Linked DNA regions of Homo sapiens: region 1 is linked to region 2. The links are contacts of gene promoters, found by promoter capture Hi-C in blood cells and fetal thymus (Javierre and others, 2016). All regions are on one chromosome and are shown on one strand. Each heading gives the region's core, a stretch centred on a gene start or on the middle of the fragment in contact. The rest is flanking DNA. Distances are from core to core; before and after follow the strand shown. Region 1 overlaps TIAL1 (TIA1 cytotoxic granule associated RNA binding protein like 1). Region 2 holds the start of SEC23IP (SEC23 interacting protein).

The links. The method cuts DNA at HindIII sites, captures the fragments that hold promoters and counts their contacts. A CHiCAGO score of 5 or more calls a contact.
Region 1: a contact is called between a fragment that was not itself captured here and the fragment with the promoter of SEC23IP in region 2, in 9 of 17 cell types (neutrophils, monocytes, naive CD4 T cells and 6 more). The highest score is 10.9, in neutrophils.

What each region holds. Positions count from the first base shown.
Region 1 is chr10:119,588,563-119,594,641 of GRCh38, forward strand. All of the region lies in intron 1 of TIAL1 (TIA1 cytotoxic granule associated RNA binding protein like 1), which reads right to left. Among named protein-coding and RNA genes, the nearest start is that of TIAL1, 5.4 kb to the right of the region's middle. The HindIII fragment of the contact is 3,532 bases long and covers 1,479-5,010 here.
Region 2 is chr10:119,886,600-119,894,009 of GRCh38, forward strand. SEC23IP (SEC23 interacting protein) reads left to right here and starts at 6,131. Exons shown (of 19, transcript NM_007190.4): 1 at 6,131-6,346. The coding sequence starts at 6,184. RefSeq lists enhancers at 2,507-3,045, 4,846-5,357, 5,358-5,868, 5,869-6,379. The HindIII fragment of the contact is 6,362 bases long and covers 4,103-7,410 here.

The DNA of each region.
Region 1 (6,079 bases), core at 1,995-4,494, 300 kb before region 2:
TGAACTCCTGACCTCAGGTGATCTGTCCGCCTTGGCCTCCCAAAGTGCTGGAATTACAAGCGTGAGCCACTGCGCCCGGCCACCTTTTATTTCATTTTAACTTCCTCTGTTTTCAACAAAATTTCTCCAATTAAACCTGATCCTATGAAAGTAAGATTAACCCTTATTTAGGAAAGCAACAATTGTTCTTAGGCCACTAAAATACCACTCTGAAAGACATTTAAAGAACAAATCAATGTGATCTTGTATACCCCAATGGCATTATTATTCTGTACCCTGGATATCATTTTCTCATCTTATTCTAATTGTTAAAATTTTAAACTGGTCTCAAGATAACTACAATTTCTAATTAAAAATAATTTATAACACACACACACATACAACAAATACTAATTCATTAAAACATCTGATTGTAATAGGATATTAAACATAAAGTGAGTTTATCTTAGATTCCCAACCAAAGCAATTACATGAACAAAGAACAGAATTAAAGTTATAGTAAAACATACAGAGGGTGGAGGGTTTTTGTTGTTTTGTTTTTGGCTGAGTAAGGTTGTTTGCAATGATGTCTTCACTGTTTCATTTTAGGAGAGCAGGGTAAAATATAAAATTTCCTAGTCTAAAATGCATCAGAATCAACAAAATATATATGTATTTTTTTGAGATGGAGTCTCACTCTGTCACCCAGGCTGGAGTGCAGTGGCATGATCTCAGCTCACTGCAACCTCCGCCTCCCAGGTTCAAGCGATTCTCCTGCCTCAGCCTCCCAGGTAGCTGGGACTACAGGCGTGCACCACCACGCCCGGCTAATTTTTGTATTTTTAGTAGAGACGGGGTTTCACCATGTTGGCCTGGCTGGTCTCAAACTCCTAACCTCAAGTGATCCACCTGCCTGAGTCTCCCAAAGTGCTGGGATTACAGGAGTGAGCCACCATGCCCAGCCAACAAAATATATCTTAATGTAGATAAAAAAGCTAATACAAAGATTTCTTAAGAAATTCAGAGAAAAACTAAGACAAATCCAGGCATACTTTTGACTATGGACACTTAAAAATTTGGGTTTTTTTTCCTAATTACAATTGAATGTGTTTTGTGTAAAAGATTTTAAATACAGGAAAGTTTAAAAAAGAAAAGAAAAAAATGCTACTTCATCACACAGAGAGGACCACCTTGGTTTATGTCTTGTACTATGGATTTATCTTAATTTATCTAAATAAATTGCCAAACACTAAAGTCTTTCTGGTATTCTACACATAATTCCTCAAATTTGCATCTGTTATGAACAACCTCATAAACCAAACAATATCTGTAAAATTTAACAAAGTTCATTCTGGAAAGTAGATTTCTTTTTCTACTTGTAATATATTACATCTGGAAACTGAGTATTAAGACCAAAATAAGACTTGCAACATAGCTGCCACATTAAATACACAACATGCTTTAAGATGGAATACTCAAAGGGAAAAATAGACTGAGAAAGCTTAGGTTAAGTAAAAAACTTAAAAGATCCAATTAAGAATTAGTAGCGATTTTCCAGTTAAGAATTTTATTGCAATGAGTACTAATAATCTTAGTGTACCTGCTCTAAAATTGAAACACACATCCAATATTACCTAACTAGAGGACTAAACAAGTGACAAACTGTTTTACGTCCACTATGCCACCTTTTCCACGTAATTAAGGAGCTGATCCATCAGCAGGCCAATGTAGTGACATACTTTTTCCAGCAGGACTAAAAGGTTATTGGGTTATGAGCCAGCGATAGGCTGCTTGCCCCTTCTTAACTCATAGGGGTTTGTGAGCCTGTATCTCTGAAATGATTTCTTTTTGTACAGAGTAGACCTATCTGTAAGAAAAATGAACAAGTGACCAGGCATGGTGGCTCACGCCTGTAATCCCAGCACTTTGGGAGGCTATGGCAGGCGGATCATGAGGTCAGGAGTTTGAGACCAGCCTGACCAACATGGTGAAACCCTGTCTCCACAAAAAATACAAAAATTAGCCGGGCATGGTGGCGCGCACCTATAATCCCAGCTACTCGGGAGGCCGAGGCAGGAGAATCGCTTGAACCTGGGAGGCAGAGGTTGCAGTGAGCCGAGATTGCACCATTGCACTCCAACCTGGGCGACAGAGTGAGACTCCATCTCAAAAAAATAAATAAAAAAGAAAGAGAGAAAGAGAGAGAGACAGAGAGAAAGAGAGAAAGAAAGAAAGAAAGAAAGAAAGAAAGAAAGAAAGAAAGAAAGAAAGAAAGAAAGAAACGAACAAGTGATCTTGAGCTTCTAAACATTATGCTCCTTGCCTAAAGGGCTAGTTAGCTCACTTCTAAGAGAAAAGAAGGATGGATAAAACTGGTTTTCACATATTGAAGCTAGCTAATAACAAAATTAAAATAGAATTATCATTTTAATATAACACATTTTAAATGATTTAAATAGTTTTAAATTTCCATTACTGTTTAAACATCAATTTCTTCAGGAAAAACTGTATTGGAATTAGTTACCTTCTATATCTAATAGTCACAAAAAAAGCCGTCACTGCTTAATAAGATCTTTATTCCACCAGGTGTGGTGGCTCACACCTGTAATCCTAACACTCTGGGAAGCCGAGGCAGGTGGATCACTTGAGGTCAGGAGTTCAAGACCAGCCTGGCCAACATGGTGAAACCCCGTCTCTACTAAAAACACAAAAAATTAGCCAGGCATGGTGGCGGGCACCTGTAATCCCAGCTACTTGGGGGAGGCTGAGGCAGGAGAATCACTTGAACCCGGGAGGTGGAGGTTGCAGTGGGCTGAGATCGCGCCATGGCACTCCAGCCTGGGCAACAAGAGCGAAACTCCATCTGAAAAAAAAAAAAAAATCTTTATTCTAAGTCAACCTATTTCCCGCCAGTTACAGATCTTGAAGAATTTCTAGAGGCATATTTAGATATATTAATTTACATTTCTAGCACTGAAAGCAAAGATGAAAACGTTAATATCTAAGTTTAGAATGTCATGAAATATTTATTTAAAAATCCAGTATTAAGGTTTCCTATTTTTCAAATTATCTCCACTAAAAGTTAAATGTTAAGCAGCAAACTAAATTTCAAAAACTAACATGAAAGGCCTTCCATAACAACACATACAATATCTTAATTTACCAGGATTAAAAGGCCATGATTCACTATATAATTTCACCTAAACTTTACCCAAATTTCAGACTGCCTTTTCTTTTACTGAGTTCTTGTACCCAAATTTCAGATTGCCTCTTCATTTACATTTGCCTTCGTGCATCATAACACTTGAGAGACGTATTGTATAGCTTTTAAAATACTGTACTATTCTATTTTAAGTACTTTTACAGTATCATAAAATAATCTGTCCCAAAGTAAATACTAACAAAAATATTTAAGACAAAGTTCAATGCCTGACCTAGTAAGATCATCTCTTGGTAGTTCATTGAAATGACATCTTTATTCGTTCCAAATTATAGCTTCTACACTTCACTTTCTTTCTGCTCTGGTTATGAAATAGTCAAGCTAAAGATCCAAGTCTTTAAATATATAATTGCTACCTAAAGAACATACACAAAATAACAGAAAAAAGATAAATGGCTCTAATTTTTGTATTGAGAGGTCAATTCAAAGAGTAAACACTTAGGAAATTCCAAAATGATTTTTAACTCAACGAAAAAATTCAGAAGAGGCATACCTTAGAGTCTATTTTGTCTTCTAAGAACAGGAACTGTAGGAACTGAAGCATTAAAAACTGAAAATGACACCTTTATCTCTAATATCAGGGTTAAAATCCAATTTGGGGCTAAAAACTTAGCAGTTTCACAGTAGGCAGAAATTCACATTGCCAAACTACTTCCTGTGTCCGACTGGGCAGAATTTTAAGTTAAGAATATCATGCCTTTCAGAAGACTAATGACACTTTTTCAACACTGAATGTGCTCTCACTCTGAAAAGAGTAGCCCTACCAAGGCTGAAATTATCAGCACTTTCACACAAAAAACTATAGCTAAATTTCCATAATAGTTTTGCTTTTGTTCTTGACAAGTCCTATACAAGAAGAGATTTTGCAATAATATCCTTCAATAGATCTCTAATTAATTGTTCAATTTGTCGGTACAGTATTTCATTTTAGGAAGGAGGCATGATGGAAGATAGCTGCAGGAGGTACAACTAAATTGACCAACTATATATATGAGATATTCTCACACACACACACACACACACACACTCACTCTCTCTCTCTTACTTTAAAGAAACAAAGAATATGATTAAGTTGAATTTGAATGAGGGGCTTGATTATAGCCACAGTATAGCCAAATCCATGGTATAGCCAGTCAATTTTGTAATAGTTTATAGAATTTTCTTCTGCTTTGTTCTTAGATGTTCAGATTATACTCTAAATCATTAGCTTATTTCCAGGAAGAAAGAATAGCCTTAAAGGAAGGGATTGTGTAACATGGTATTACACGAATTCCTAGCAATTTTGGTGCATCCGATAGATGAAGAAAATAAAATAAGCTACAATAAAACACTATTACAATTTAGTGTCATATTGTAGATTCAGATATACCATGGATCAAATCACTGCACTACAAAGATACACACAACCCAAGCCTGAAATGTGTGTCCCACAAGGCAGGTGTCAGACAGTCCAGTTCCAACACCAGTATTACACAGCATGATCTTGTTTGTTTTTTTAGATCACAAGTTACTCAATGCATAATACCCCAAAATAAATGTCAAATGAGAATGAAGAACATCAGAAAACAGACCTTTAAAGCAACTATATGACAAATAGAAATTTAGGCTCAACATCAAAGCAATTCTTGCCACTTTAAATACCATCAAATAAATTAGTAATACTGTAGGTAATGAATATTTAAAGACCTACCTAGGCTCTAAACACCATATTGTTTTCTGAAGATAGAACCATATGTCTTAGCTTGTGTGTGTCTGCAGGAAAAAAACCTCACTAGTAACACACAGGCATCTTAAGGAAACAATTTAAGATAAGCTTTGTTAAGAACACATTCTTTTAAAACATACTGGCCACTTGAAAAACCTAATCCATAGCTCACAATGTAAAATATAAGATCTCCATAAACAAAAAACCCTACTAGATATCAACGTCTAAAATCATGTTCAGTTTTCATCATGTTACTTATATCTAATAGAACCCTTTGAGAATATGTAAAACGTACACTTAGAAAAACTATGCATTATTTGTATTAAACTCTAATAAAAATCCCAATTGTTAAACATTTGCTTTTATCTCAAGATTTTACATTTGAAGGTTTTAAAAAATATATAAAAGTCAACAGACTGCACCACATGTGACAGTAATGTCTGCCTACAATCTTAGTTCAACCAGGACTTTTAAAAAAGAACTTAATACTAATTTAATGAAAGAAGTATAATCACTGTAGAAATTCTGAGTACCTCTTATGTTCCAGGCAGTGAACTAAGTGCTGTGGGGGTAAGACCTAGGAAGATGTAGTAGTCCTTCTCTTAAAAAAAAAAAAAGGCCCTATGGAAAAGGGTGGGAGAAGGAAAAAGGAAGACAGAATAGTAAACACGTACTGACATACAAAACAACAGAGTTAAGATGTTTATTTATTCATATGAACATGTCACAGTTTTAGAGAACTGTAAACATAGACAACTTAACTGTTTCAAAGAAAGAACAAGAGATTAGAGAAGGTAGAGGAAGGAAATAAGTGACAAAGAAGTTAGCTTATTATTCCCCTGGAGAAACTCTGATAGGGATGAAGGCAAGGCAGATGCAAAGATAAATAAAAGACATCAAAAAAGCACATTCTTTAGCACTACAAAACCAGAGATTCCTCTTGGTAAGGAACAGATACAGTAAATGAGACCCCTGCCATGAGTATTTATCAATCATTCAGTGTGTGATGATACTTCAGATTTTTAGATACAATGTAACTTTTATCTTTGTTAAATACATGTTAGCTAGTCTTTAAGCCTAGCTTTCCCAGATGCTTATATCAAAGTACACATTGTAACTCAACACCAAGTCTTGGCTTCAACAGATGTTGAAGGATAAAATTTTTTTTTTAATTG
Region 2 (7,410 bases), core at 4,881-7,380:
TGGAAGGCGACTGCACCAGAGGACAAAGGTTCTCTGGGCCAGAAGCCCCCAAACAGATGATCCAACAACAGAACTGAGGGTGTCCGGGGCAAGCGCCAGCTCATATCATCACCCTCACTGAGCCCTAGGTATGTTTAACTATTGAGGGCTGGGAAATTGACTTCCTCCTGGACACTGGTGTGGCTTTCTCAGTGTTAATCTCCTGTACTGGACAGTGTGCTCAAGGTCTGTTACCATCTGAGGAGTCCTGGGACAGCCTGTAACCAGGTATTTCTCCCACCTCCTCAGTTGTAACTGGGAGACTTTGCTCTAAACATGCCTTTCTTGTTATGCCTGAAAGTCCCACACCCTTATTAGGGAGGGACATATTGGCCAAAGCTGGAGCTATTATCTACATGAATATGGGGAACAATTTACCCATTTGTTGCCCCCTGTTTGAGGAGGGAGTCAACCCTGAAATATGGGCATTGGAAAGACAATTTGGAAGGGCAAAAAATGCCCACCCACTCCAAATCAGGCTAAAAGACCCCACCACTTTTCCTTATCAAAGACAATATCCCTTAAGGCCTAAAGCTCATAAAGGATTACAGGATATTGTTAGACATCTAAAAGCTCAAGGTTTACCAAGAAAATGCAGTAGTCCCTGCAACACCCCAATTCTAGGAGTACAAAAACCGAATGGTCAGTGGAGACTAGTGCTTAGATCTTAGACTCATCAGTGAGGCAGTAATTCCTCTATATCTAGTTGTAACCAACCCCTATACCCTGCTCTTTCAAATACCAGAGGAAGCAGAATGGTTCACTGTTCCTGACCTCAAGGATACCTTCTTCTGTATTCCCCTGCACTCTGACTCCCAGTTTCTCTTTGCCTTCGAGGATCCCACAGACCACACGTCCCAACTTACGTGGATGGTCTTGCCCCAAGGGTTTAGGGATAGCCCTCATCTGTTTGGTCAGGCACTTGCCCAAGATCTAGGCCACTTCTCAAGTCTAGGCATTCTAGTCCTTCAGTATGTGGATGATTTACTTTTGGCTACCAGTTTGGAAGCCTCATGCCAGCAGGCTACCCTAGATCTCTTAAACTTTCTAGCTAATCAAGGGTACAAGGCGTCTAAATCGAAGGCCTAGTTCTGCCTATAACGAGACAAATATCTAGGCCTAATTTTAGCCAGAGGAACCAGGGCCCTCAGCAAGGAACGAATACAGCCTATACTGGCTTATCCTTACCCTAAGACATTTAAACAGTTGTGGGGGTTCCTTCGAATCACTGGCTTTGCTGACTATGGATCCCTGGATACAGTGAGATGGCCAGACCCCTCTATACTCTAATCAAGGAGACCCAGAGGGCAAATACTCATCTAGTAGAATGGGAACCAGAGGCAGAAACAGCCTTCAAAACTTTAAAGCAGGCCCTAGTACAAGCTCCAGCCTTAAGCCTTCCCACAGGACAAAAACCTCTCTTTATATGTCACAGAGAGAGCAGGAATAGCTCTTGGAGTCCTTACTCAAGACTTGAGGGACAACCCCACAACCAGTGGCATACCTAAGTAAGGAAATTGATATAGTAGCAAAAGGCTGGCCTCACTGTTTATGGGTAGTTGTGATGGTGGCCATCTCAGTGTCAGAGGCTATCAAAATAATACAAGGAAAGGATCTCATTGTCTGGACTACTCATGATGTAAATGGCATACTAGGTGCCAAAGGAAGTTTATGGCTATTAGACAACTGCCTGCTCAGATACCAGGCACTACTTCTTGAGGGACCGGTGCTTCAAATACGCATATGTGTGGCCCTCAATCCCGCCACTTTTCTCCCAGAGGATGGAGAACCAATCAAGCATGACTGCCAACAAATTATAGTCCAGAGTTATGCTACCCAAGAGGATCGCTTAGAAGTCCCCTTAGCTAATCCTGACCTTAACCTATATACTGATGGAAGTTCATTTGTGGAGAATGGGATACGAAGAGCAGGTTATGCCATAGTTAGTGATGTAACAATACTTGAAAGTAAGCCTCTTCCCCCAGGGACCAGCACCAAGTTAGCAGAACTACTGGCACTTACCTGAGCCTTAGAAAGGGAAAAAGAATAAATGTGTATACAGATAGCAATTATGCTTATCTAATCCTACATGCCCATGCTGCAATATGGAAAGAAAGGGAGTTCCTAACCTCCGGGGGAACCCCCACTAAATACCACAAGGAAATCATGGAGTTGTTGCATGCAGTGCAAAAACCCAAGGAGGTGGCAGTCTTACACTGCTGAAGCCATCAAAAAGGGGAAGGAGAGGGGAGAACAGCAGCATAGCAGCATATGCGGCTGGCAGAAGCAGGGAAAGACCAGCAGAGAGAAGGAAAGAAAGAGAGAAAGACAGAAAGTCGAAGAGAGAGAGAGAAAGAGACAGAGACAAAAAAGGAGTCAAAGAGAGAAAGAGACAGAAAGTCAAAGAGAAAGAAAGAGAGAAAGGGAGAGAAGTAGTAAAGAAAAAACAGTGTACCCTATTCCTTTAAAAGCCAGAGTAAATTTAAAACCTATAATTGATAATTGAAGGTCTTCTCCATGACCCTGTAACACTCCAACACCACCTGGTTGTCAGTGTAAACAAGGGCATAGCCCGAAAGCACTGAGGCCACTGACAACCCATAGCCTTCCTATCAAAAATCCTTAACCCAGCAGGTTTCCTAACAGGGGATCTAAATCTTAATTACCATACAAAGGTCCAACCAGATCTAGGAGGAACTCCCTTCAGGACAGGACTATAGCTGGTTCCTCCCCAGCGATTAAGGGAGAAAGACACAATGAGTATTCAGTAAGTGATAAGGAAACTCTTGTAGAAGCAGAGTTAGGAAAATTGCCTAATAATTGGTCTGTTCAAACGTGCTCCAGCTATCAGTACTCAGCCAAACCTTAAAGTACTCACAGAATCAGGAAGAAGCCATCTATACCAATTGTAAGTTAATATGGATTGAACAAGGTCTTATTAATACAAAGAATAATTGAAATCCCAAACTTACAAGGTTTTCAACAAAAGTAAAGTTTGCTAAAAGTTAACAGTGTAACATATATTATCCTACTACCACACACTCTCAAAGGATTTCTCAGACAGTTTGCAAGAAATAACAAAATCTATCCTTATTCTACAATTCCAAATAGACTCTTTGGCAGCAGTGACCCTCCAAAACCACCGAGGCCTAGACCTCCTCACTGCTGAGAAAGGAGGACTTTGCACCTTCTTAGGGGAAGAGTGTTGCTTTTACACTAACCAGTCAGGGATAGGATGAGGTGCCGCCTGGTGTTTACAGGAAAAGGCTTCTGAAATCAGACAACGCCTTTCAAACTCTTATATCAACCTCTGGAGTTGGGCGATATGGCATTTCCCCTTTCTAGGTCCTGTGATGGCCATCTTGCTATTATTCACCTTCGGGCCCTGTATTTTTAACCTCCTTGTCAAATTTGTTTCCTCTAGGATTGAGGCCATCAAGCTACAGATGGTCTTACAAATGGAACCCCAATGAGCTCAACTAACAACTTCTACTGAGGACCCCTGCACCAACCCGCTGGCCCTTTGACTGGCATAAAGAGTTCCCCTCTGGAGGACACTACAACTGCAGGGCTCCTTCTTCAACCCATCCAGCAGGAAGTAGCTACAGAGGTCATTGCCCAATTCCCAACAGCTCTTGGGGTGTCCTCTTTAGAGGGGGGATTGAGAGGTGAAGCCAGCTAGACTTCCTGGGTTGAGTAGGGACTTGGAGAACTTTTCTGTCTAGCTAGAGGATTGTAAATGCACCAATCAGTGCTCTGTGTCTAGCTGAAGGACTGTAAATGCACCAATCAGCACTCTGTAAAAACACACCAATCAGTGCTCTGTGTCTAGCTAGAAGATTGTAAATGCACCAATCAGCACTCTGTAAAAATGCACCAATCAACACTCTGTGTCTAGCTAAAGGATTGTAAATGCACCAATCAGCATTCTTTACAATGGACCAATCAGCGCTCTGTAAAATGGACCAAGCAGCAGGATGAGGGCAGTGACAAATAAATAAATAAAAGCTGGCCACCCGAGCCAGCAGCAGCAACCCAGTCAGGTCCCCTTCCACGCTACGGAAGCTTTGTTCTTTCGCTCTTCACAATAAATCTTGCTGCTGCTCACTCTGGGTCTGTGCCACCTTGAAGAGCTGTAACACTCACCACAAAGGTCCGCGGCTTCATTCTTGAAGTCAGTGAGGCCAAGAACCCACCGGAAGGAACCAACTCCGGACACATGACCACTGAGAACTGTCTTCTCAAGGACCTGGGGGTTTGTCTCTTGAATTGCAAGCCTTCAAGGAGGTGGTTCTCATTCTCATTCCCAGTCCCTGTGGCTACCTTGCTCTCTTACACCACTGCTTGTCATGAAGACAGAAAAATTATGTCTCCTCTGGATAAGCATGGATTAACACACCCAGATGGCCTAGTTGCAGGACGAACCAACCCTTCACACTCCTCAGCACCTTTCCCTTAGCACACCACAGCCTCTAAAAAGCCTCCAAATTTTTGTTTCAGCAAAGTTGTGTTCAGTTCATGCTGGACCCAATTCCCTAGCAATAGTTTTCATTAAATAAAATCTAATTTACTGCTTTAACGAGTGTCCCACTTAAAAAATTTTTCTTGACAGTAAGCACATGAAATCGTTATTGAATTAATAAACTTAGGTTCTATATATGTGTAAACAGCTGAGCAGAGTTTCATTATTTTGAGCGTTCTTTTGGTATCTCCTCTCCCAACCTCCAAGAAGCTGAAATATGGCTTAAGTTATATTTTCCTTCAAAATCTCTAACTATGAAAGATGACAATTATGTCCAAGTTATCCACAGTACCTCCTGGATTGAAGTAAGTCAGCTTACTGTGGATATAGAAAGCTATCTAAAATGTCAGATCTCTAATTTCAATGCCCTGGTTTCTTTTTTTTTCTTTTTTTTTTTTTTAAGGAGACAGGGTCTCGCTGCACAGTGAGTGGCAAGATCAGGGTTAATTTGGCCTCAAGCAATATTCCCGCCTCAGCCTCCTGAGTAGCTGGCAATATAGGTGCTATGCCACCAAGCCCGGCTAATTTTTGTATTTTTAGTAGAGACGGGGTTTCACCATGTTGGCCAGGTTGGTCTCAACCTTCTGGGCTCAAGCTATCCTCCCGCTCTGCCTCACAAAGTGCTGGGATTGCAGGCCTGCGCCATGGCGTCTGGTTTGATTTCTCTTTTAAATATTTTTTTTGGCCAGGCGTGGTGGTTCATGCCTATAATCCCAGCAGTTTGGGAGGCCAAGGCGGGCAGATCACGAGGTCAGGAGATTGAGACCATCCTGGCCAACCCGGTGAAACCTCGTCTTTACTAAAAATACAAAAAATTAGCCAGGCGTGGTGGCGGACGCCTGTAGTCCCAGCTACTCGGAGGCTGAGGCAGGAGAATCGCTTGAACCCGGGAGGCGGAGATTGCAATGAGCCCAGACTGCACCGCTGCACTCCAGCCTGGGCGACACAGCAGACTTGTCTCAAAACAAAAAACAAAACCAACCAAAAAAACAAAAAACAAATGCAAAACAAAAAACAACAAAAATAAAACGAAATATTTTTTTCTCCCTATGGATTAAACACTTAAAAAATGTTTTACCACTTCTATTTCTGGGTCAACCACAATGTTCGGTTCCATCCAGAAAGACAAGTGGGTTTTGGAGAGGGTGTTTGGTTCCGCCTAGCATGCGAATTCCCATTCCCGCACAACGCTCTTCCTCCCTTCCTCCTTCCGGTAGCGTCCAGCAGGATTCCGCTGTTCCTCCAAAATCTTTGTCAGGAGAGCCATCCTGACGGTACCTTTAGGAAGCCCATAGATACCCGCCACAACCTGTGACTTTCAGGGTCAATTGCGTCTCAATTCGCACGTCTATCCAGAACCTGCGGGGACCACGTCCCCATCCTCCCGCCCGGCCTCCGCCTCCGAGGGTGTCACGTGCTAGACGCGGGCGTGAAGACAGTGTCGCCATGTTGATATCTGGCGTCGCCGTGTAGGGGAAGGGAGAGGGCGGCTGACTAGCTACCCGTAATTTCGGCTCCTGTGCGCAAGTGCGGAAGTGCGCTGGCCAGGAGCGTGATCGGTTTCCGGTCAGTGGTGTGGTACCGGGTACCCGGAGACGTGTATCGGACGGTGGGCCGCAGCCATGGCCGAGAGAAAACCTAACGGTGGCAGCGGCGGCGCCTCCACTTCCTCATCGGGCACTAACTTACTTTTCTCCTCCTCGGCCACGGAGTTCAGCTTCAATGTGCCCTTCATCCCAGTCACCCAGGCCTCCGCTTCTCCGGCCTCCCTGCTCTTACCGGGAGGTAATAAGGGGAGGGCGGCCCCGTGTGTGGTGGGAGGCGGGCGGGGGACGTGCAATGACAAAGGTCAGACGGGAGTTTTTCCTTCTGCCTCGAGCTACCCTCTGGATAGCTTGCCAGGATCATTACTGGCCAGGTTTGAGTGGGTCGGGGGCTTTGGGATCTTGGAGGTGGCAGGTGATGAGACTTGCTCTTCACGGAAACCCCCTGTTCCGAGTTGTCCAGAGTGCTGGACATTCATTCGTACCCTGGCATTCCGCAAATCTTTGCTGAATACCCGTTGTTGGTACGCCAGGTGCTGGCAGGAAATGCAAATAAATTAAACAGTGGCCCTCTCCTAGGGTACAGTAGTCTGTCTCCCACTAGGAGACTCCTAGGATACGGTAAGATACCTCCTAGGATGGACTGTGCCCCTCTCCTAGGATACGGTACACTGTCTCCTACTAGGAGATTGTTGTGATACAGTACAATATCTTCTAGGTTACAGTAAGATATCTTATAAGATGGACTGTGCCCCTCTTCTAGAAGCCTGTAATATTTGTGAAGTAGACATATACAATGCATTCCTTATCTTTTTTTTTTTTTTTTTTTTTTTGAGACGGAGTCTTGCTCTGTCGCCCAGGCTGGAATGCAGTGGCGCGATCTCGGCTCACTGCAGCCTCCACCTTCCAGGTTCAAGTGATTCTCCTGCCTCAGCCTCCCGAGTAGCTGGGACTACAGGCGTCTGCCACCATGCCTGGCTAATTTTTGTATTTGTAGTAGAGACAGGGTTCCACCATGTTGGCCAGGATGGTCTCAATCTCCTGACCTCAAGTGATCCGCCTGCCCTGGCCTCCCAAAGTGCTGGGATTACAGGTTTAACCCCCCACCCATTCCTCATCTTTCAAGACAATACATCACTTCTTCCAAGAAGCTGTTTCTTGTTCTCTTAGGCCCCCACTCCTATGTGCACTCCTAGCTCTTTTTTCATATTTGTATTATTGTCCAGGGAGATTGCTTTTTGATGATTATGTAGCATTGCCCAGAGCATAGTGTTTAAGAGCACAGACTGTCTGTATTCCAGTCCT